2 separate regions of the Homo sapiens genome follow, and region 2 is linked to region 1. Evidence: promoter capture Hi-C in human tissues and cell types (Jung and others, 2019). All regions are on one chromosome and are shown on one strand. The core of a region is centred on a gene start or on the middle of the fragment in contact, and the rest is flanking DNA. Distances in the headings are between cores, read along the strand shown.

The links. Contacts are between HindIII fragments. The study calls those that stand out against the background at their distance.
Region 2: a fragment that was not itself captured here is called in contact with the fragment with the promoter of AMZ2 in region 1 in 1 of the 25 tissues and cell types used here (hippocampus).

The regions. Positions count from the first base shown.
Region 1 is chr17:68,246,328-68,250,134 of GRCh38, forward strand. AMZ2 (archaelysin family metallopeptidase 2) reads left to right here and starts at 1,716. Exons shown (of 7, transcript NM_016627.5): 1 at 1,716-2,378. RefSeq lists enhancers at 236-782, 783-1,328 and silencers at 1,543-1,842, 3,152-3,201. The HindIII fragment of the contact is 21,931 bases long and covers 1-3,614 here.
Region 2 is chr17:67,981,075-67,984,881 of GRCh38, forward strand. BPTF (bromodomain PHD finger transcription factor) reads left to right here. Exons shown (of 28, transcript NM_182641.4): 28 at 1,178-3,304. The coding sequence ends at 1,214. Among named protein-coding and RNA genes, the nearest start is that of C17orf58, 13 kb to the right of the region's middle. The HindIII fragment of the contact is 8,005 bases long and covers 1-3,807 here.

The sequences.
Region 1 (3,807 bases), core at 466-2,965:
ACTGCACTCCAGTCTGGATGACAGAGCGAGACTTCGTGTCAAGTAATAATAATAAAAAAAGATGTGCTGTAATTGTCTCCGTTTTACAAAAGAGGTCAAGTAGTTGACACAGGTCCCACGCTAGTGAGGGTTTTGGGATTCAAGCACAGACCACCTTCGCCCCTATGCTACACCACCTCAGGCTGTCGGGAGATAGGCGCCCAGTCAAAAGGCACATGGAAGAAAGCCCACGACTTCTCAAGCATTGAAGCAGGAGTGGCGCATCGGTATTCTCAACTTCAAACTTTGAGAACAGTCATGGTAGGAATGCATTTTATTCAAGAATGGGTTCAGGTGAGGGTGGATATGGGCACTGGGTTCAAAGGACAAATTTGGAGAATTCATGATCCAGGAGAGTGAACAAATAAGGAAGGGCTAAAGAGATCCTCGAAGTTGAAAGGTTCAGAGTTAATGTCCTCTAAGGAGAGCCAACAAGGGGTTACAAATGCTGAAGTCATCAAGAAAATGTGCCTGTCTTTCCTTGAGACTGGGAAGGAGAATTAGGATGACGAAAATCCAGAGGATGGTAAAATAGCTTGACTTCAAAATAACAGGCCGGGCGCCGTGGCTCACGCCTGTAATTCCAGCACTGTGGGAGACCGGGGTGCGGGGGGGTGGATCACCTGAGCGCAGGAGTTCGAGACCAGCCTGGGTAACAGGGTGAAAACCCGTATTAAAAAAAAAAAAGCCGGGCGCGGTGGCCCACGCCTGTAATCCCAGCACTTTGGGAGGCCAAGGCGGGCGGATCACTTGAGGTCAGGAGTTCGAGACCAGCCTGGCCAACATGGTGAAACCCCATCTCTACTAAAAATAACAAAAATTAGCCGGACGTGATAGCGGGCACCTGTAGTTCCAGCTACTGGGGAGGCTGAGGCGGGAAAATCGCTTGAACCCAGGAGGCAAAGGTTGCACTGAGCCCAGACTGTCCCACTGCACTCCAGCCTGGGCAACAGAGCAAGACTCCGTCTCCAAAAAAAAAAAAAAAAAAAAAAAAGCAAGAAAAAGAAAGAGAATGGCGAGGCCCAGAGAGACCGAAAGTCCCACCAGAGGGTACAGAGCTAGCTCAGCCCTAATGCCGGCCCCGCGGTGCCTTTCCGAGCTCACGGCCTCCCCTCAGCATCCGGGTTTCGGCCTCGGAGCGCCAGGGACGCCACGAGGACGCGCCCCACACTTGCGCTTCTGGGTTCCAGCCCCCGCGGCCCCCAACAAATAAAGAAGGGAAAGTGCTGAGGGTGACGGCCCCGGGGAGCGCTGCGGCTCTACGTCAACCTGCGGCGGCCGCCGACTCATTTGGGGCCACGCTGGTTGCATTCGTCACGCCGGCGATGCCTCTCAAACCCGCGGCCTGCCGAGGACGTTCCCACACGGGAGACCCCAGCGACGCGGGCGCATCTGTGGCTCTCGAGAACCGGGCCGCGGAGCCGCCGCGAGCGCAAGCGAGGAATCGGCGACTGCGGGGGTGGACAGCTGGGGCTTGTAGTCCCCTCGCTACCCTCTATTCTGGAAGAGGCGGGTCGCGGCCGCTGAACTCCAGCTCTGCGCCTGCCCAGGCGGCCGCACGCTCAGGGGCGTGGCATGGGTGGGTCGTGAGTTGGGCGGGGCCCACAGGGCGTGCGCGACGCAGCGGCGCGGCGCGTGGCGTAAGGGGCGTGGCGCCAGTGGGCGTGGCGTGGCGCAGTGCGAAGGGACGCGGTGCGCATGCGCGTGAGGGCTGCCGCGGGTGGGTGGTATCGAGGCCTGTCGGGTCAGGGCGGTTCGCGGGTGCTGTCAGAGCTGGGCCGGGGCCCCTAGGCAGGGTAGCCGGGTCGTAGAGGCGGGGGCCGGTCGCGGTCGGTGGAGCGGGATGAGGATGTAGGAGGGGCGGACGTGGCGGAAGCCGCGGGGTCCGCGGGGTCGGTGCCTCTAGGGAGCCAGGGAGGCCTTTCCCGAGGCTCCTGGGGAAGAAGAGGCGAAGCGAGAGTCCCTGGGGAACCCCCACTCCACTCCCAGCTGGAGACTGGGTTGTGTCTGCATGGACCAGAGCCCACAGTGCGAGTTGCTATAGGCAACCAGCCAGGGTGGCCAGCTCCTTCCCGTTTGCCCGTGATGTTCTGGTTTTGGGACCAAAGCATCCTAGGCCTCCAGCCCACTGCAGTGACCGAATTCTGCGCCCCCTGCCCATCTTCTCCCGCAGCTTCCCTAGATTAGGCTTGGGAGGCAAGAGGAGGCCTCCTGACCTTTCACACTGCCTTTTTAATATTAAGATGAAGTCACACTCCACAACTTTCTTCCAGCCAGGCCCAGACATGTCCGTCCTTGTAAGTTAAAAGCTTCCATGGGAGCCTTCCTTCCTAATCAAGGTAGGTAGACTACAGGAAGGTACATCTTGTTTTATATTTTGTCCTGTAGAAGTCAGATTTCAGCCCAGTTGTGTAGGAGTGAGGATGAGCCTATGCTTATATCAGAGCTTTGAGTACAGAGACATTTGGTCTGGAATTTTAGTCAGCCTCTTCAACCCCAGAATTTATAGGTTCAATCAGAACAGACATTAGCTTAAGTTTTCCCATCAATCGTCTATCATTAAACTGGCAAAATCTAAATAATTAGAAAATATGACAAAGATGATCCAGACAGAGATGTTCAACTTTTTCCTTAATTCAAAAAGCCTCGTGGTGGAACATCGGACCCATTCAAGAGGAAGGATGAAAGCTCTATATAGGAACACGATGTGAATGGAAGAAACCTGTCATTGTGAGGCTGGCTTTTGATTAGTCATCTGATGTCTTCCCTAATGTGACATGACTTTGAGGCCATAAACTTCAGTGGCTAAGCTGTAGTTTCTCAGCCTGCAGTTAAATTGCAGAAATGATAGGGCTTACATTAGTTTTGTTTTTATTTGATGTTGAAGATCTTTGAGTCACATTAGAAACGATGAGTATTTTTCATGTGGCACTGATGAGTTAATTCATATTATTATTTTTTGAGACAGAGTCTCTATTGCCCAGGCTGGACTGCAGTGGCACGATCACGGCCCACTGCAGCCTCGACCTCCTGGGCTCAGATGATCCTCCCATCTTAGCCTGCCAAGTAGCTGGGACTACAAGTGCACATCACCACATCCGGCTAATTTTTTTGTAGATATGGGGTTTTGCCATGATGTCGAAGCTGATTTCAGACTCCTAGGCTCAAGTAATCCTTCTGCCTTGGCCTCCCAAAGTGCTGGGATTATAAGCGTGAGCCACTGTGCCAGGCCAATATTATTCCCCAAAAGAAGGAAGTTGGGTGTGAGGTCCTGCTCCTGTGGTCACCGTGAGGTTTTTTTTTTTTGTTTTGGACTCTTGCCCAGGCTGGAGTGCAGTGGCACAGTCATGGCTCACTGCAGCCTCAAGCTCCTGGGCTCAAGTGATTCTCCTGTCTCAGCCTCCCTGGTAGCTAGGACCACAGATGTGCACAACTATGCCCAGGGAATTTTTAAATTTTTTGTAGAGACAGGGTCTCACCATGTTGCCTGAGCTGTTCTCAAACTCCTGGCCTCAAGCAATCCTCCTATCCCAAAGTGCTGAAATTACAGGCATGAGCCACCACACCTGGCCACCACTAGTTTTTGTAATGGGAGCAGGTTCCATATGAGATGGAGGAATGGATTTCATGATTGTCTTTTTAATTTCTTAGATCTCCAAGAAATTGGACATGAGGAAACCACTCTAAGTGTGACCACTCTAAAGCATTAGCAATCAGTCATTTCACTCTAGGGAGAAATCAGAGCTGAAATATAGAGGATAGGTAAAG
Region 2 (3,807 bases), core at 575-3,074, 270 kb before region 1:
CCTGAGCCCTGGAGGTTGAGGCTGCAGTGAGCTGTGATTGCGCCACTGCACTCCAGACTGTGCTACAGAGTGAGACCTTGTTTCAAAACAAAACAAAACAAAACAAAATTACAATGTAAAGAGTTGTATAAGGGCAACTTGCTGTTGCCTTTTTAGGGAATTTCTATTGTTTTCCAGATTTAAGGCAGAATGAAACATAACTAGCCAGTTATTGAAAATTGATTTATTTATGGATTTTCAGAATTTCCTTTGCCATATTTTCCCATTTTATGATCTCCAGCATTGTTTGCACATTGTTTTCATTACTGCACTTTGTTATAATTCATCATTTATACCATCCATATTCTTTCTTTTCTTACAGATTGTGATATCTTTAGTCTGAATTTTTAACTGGAATCAGAACTGGATGTTGGGGTCACTCTTTGTTTTATTGTACCTCGTGATTACCTAATTCAAAATTGCCCCCCAAAAAGTCAGATTAGTTAATATAATTTTTTAATGTTAAAGATGTATCGTGGTAAAAAATTTACTCTAGCAGCCATGTTGAACAATGTATTTAAAAATTGTAAACTCTTGGAATACTGTATTTATCTGCTATTTCAATATAAAGTCCTTTGACTTAGTCCTGGTAACTGTACAGTAATTTGGTTTACTAATGAAAGTTGTGAATAAAACTGTGAAACTAGAAGGGAGACTTTCTGGACTTTAATAGAAAAATGTGATTTTAAGATTGCTTTTTCTTTTGTTTTAGCGTAATTTTTCCCTTTATATTCCCCTCATCAATGTAAATAAACACACACACACACACACACACACACACACACACACACCTTTCACCACAATGGTAATGCTTCTGTAAATGCCTCTATTTGTCCAGTTGGCTGAAAATGTTGTAATCTTTATTAGACAAATATATATATATATATATATATATATATATATATATATATTTAAATATTGGCTTTTTCCAGTGAGCTATTATGTTTAGTGTACAGTGAAAAGTTTTAATATTATAGGTTAAAATTTTCTTAATCGTTCTTTTCTATTCGCTTGCCAAGGGTGAATGAAAGAACATGGCTGCTTCTCCCAGACTGACTGACCTTGGCATCCGCATAAAGCATCATTGTTTTCAAAAATGAAGGGTGCTTAATTGTTCCCTTTTTTCTATATTCTGTAGGTCTCATAACAACAAACTGCAGTCTACAGCTTCTTAAAGTTCAGCGTGTTAACCTAACATAAAACACAGCAAGAATCTGGTTGTCTGAACTATTTTAAATTAAGGAGCCAGATGTTTTTAGTCAGGCTATCCTGACAAGACTTGACCTAAACTTCGTTTTTATTGGTCATAACAGTCCAATTATATTCTTGGCCAATTTTGTCCAACGGACAAGAAAAAAGCAAAGTCAACGACACCATTATCTTGTCAAGATCAGATGGTTTTACTATTGTGGCAGAAGCGAGAAAACTTTGTTTATTGAAAAAAAAAGAAAAAGAAAGCAAGAAAAAAAGATACTATGGGGTCAAGTGTAACTCCATGGAAATGCCACGTCTGCTCTTCAGTGAAGAAGCTGGTTTAGAGTCTCACAGAAAACTTTTGACTGTATTTATTTATTGTTGCAAAAAAGACGCTTTTTTATTGCTGCCCTCATTTGTCAGCTAATTATTTTTTCTTATAAAATCCAGCCCCGGTTACATATAATCATCTGTATCTTATCATGATTCCTGTAGGTAAAAGTACAAGACGACCTCTAGATGTCTTTTCTTTCTATGAAAGGAGCTGCTATGTACACATGTGCACACACACACAACTGGGAATCAACAATGAGTTTATTGTTCATGGTAGATTAAAATTAAGCTTGCATAAAGGTTGGGCTAAGTGGTCCTGGACTACAGACTCTGTTGCCTTGAATATAACAGTACAATTTGTCAATTACTCTGCACCAGGCTAAAATGAGTAAAATCTATTTGAAGGTATCTTGTTTGTAAACATTTGTCAGATTCTAATTTTTTTCTTTTGTATTAAAATTCAACTATGGATGTATATGAAACAAAATAAATGGAGATAATTTTTCTCCCACAGACAGAGGTGTCTTTGAATGTGCGCTAATGATTATCTGTAAGCCTTTGTGGGGAGGGAGGCCTGCAAGGTCATGAAAGGCAGAAGAGTCTAATTGTGCCTGGATTTCTCCAGGACAGCAGTGGCCCCTCGTTTTATCATTCCCAGTCCATTGTCATCACGTCAGAGAAAAATCTTCAGGGGTGCTAATCCTGTTGCATCAGTTGATCATACTAACGAGAACGGTAATGCGACAAGATACACATTGCCTTCATCTGTACATTCTGTGATACCAGGCAAATTACCAATTACACACAGCTACTTATATTTTATGAAGGGCATTTTTTAGATGACCTCATCCTCTGTGTTATTTGTTGATTGGGTTTGTTTTCTGTTTGTTGGTTTGTTTGTTTCTTCCACGTAAGGAAAAGTAGTGTAAACAGTAGCGAGAAAATGGAAACCACAGAGGAAGATGTATTTTGCATGTTTTTCCTTTCAGTGTTCTTACACGTTGTATCACTGCATTGTGGTAATAGCTTCTATAAAATCTGCCATAGTTGGATTATGCAGCTTTGCAAAAATTTTTACTAGATTTTGCACTAACTCATATTAGCTTTGTCCTACCAACTTCTGGAATTTATCTAATTATTGTTTTTCAAAGTTTCTTTCCTTTTAATGTTTCCCTGCTATGCAAAACCTTTCCCAGACCTCAGTTTCTTAAAAGAAAGATGTTGCTACAGTTCCCGATTCTTTCTTATTACAGGCTCAGGTGTACAGGTTATTCTGGGTTAATTTTATCTAATGAAGCCCATTCCTTTTTGTACATAAAGATGTCACTTAAACTTATGCTTACAAACTAAAGACTAATCGCTCAATATGAAAACATGAAAAAATTTTTGCTTAAAGTATTAAGATGGAAGTAGTTAAATATGGGTTATTTTGTCCTTTTACTTTTTTAAAAAATGTTACATATTGTATGCACTGTGCTGATGCAAGAATTCTACATTTTAATGAGTTATAAAATTATTCTGCATCTCATCACGTCACAGTATTTCTGTACTATTTATTCATATATATAAATATATATGGGCTTAATCATTTAAAATTTGTTGCAGCAAGAACTTTCCTACCTGTAGGCAATAGATTGCTATGTTTTTAACAAATTGTGGCAAATTCTAAACAGCAATTCTTTTGTACGTAATAGGACATTTCATCCTAGAAAAATAAAGTAATGTTTTTGACATTGGATTTGGTGCAGTTTCTAATGAAGCAATGGTTGGTTGGTTAATATGTTTTCTATAGCTGTTAGCCTTGCCAAATTGTACAAAAAGGATAAATTTTATGGAAATCTGAAACCAGGAAGATGTTAATTTCATATGTGTATTTAACGGTATAAAGTGTTGTATAGTTTCTATCACCATACAAATACATAGACATTTTATAGTTTCATCAACTACAGAGCTTTAGTCCTTCAGAAGTAATTTTTGAAAAACATACTTCTTTTTTTTTTTTTTTGAGATGGAGTTTCACTGTTGTTGCCCAGTCTGGAGTGCAATGATGCCATCTCGGCTCACCACAACCTCTGCCTCCCGGGTTCAAGCAATTCTCCTGCCTCAGCCTCCCAAGTAACTGGGATTACAGGCATGCGCCACCACGCCTGGCTAATTTTGTATTTTTAGTAGAGACAGGGTTTCTCCATGTTGGTCAGGCTGGTCTCGAACTCCCGATCCCAGGTGATCCGCCTGCCTCGG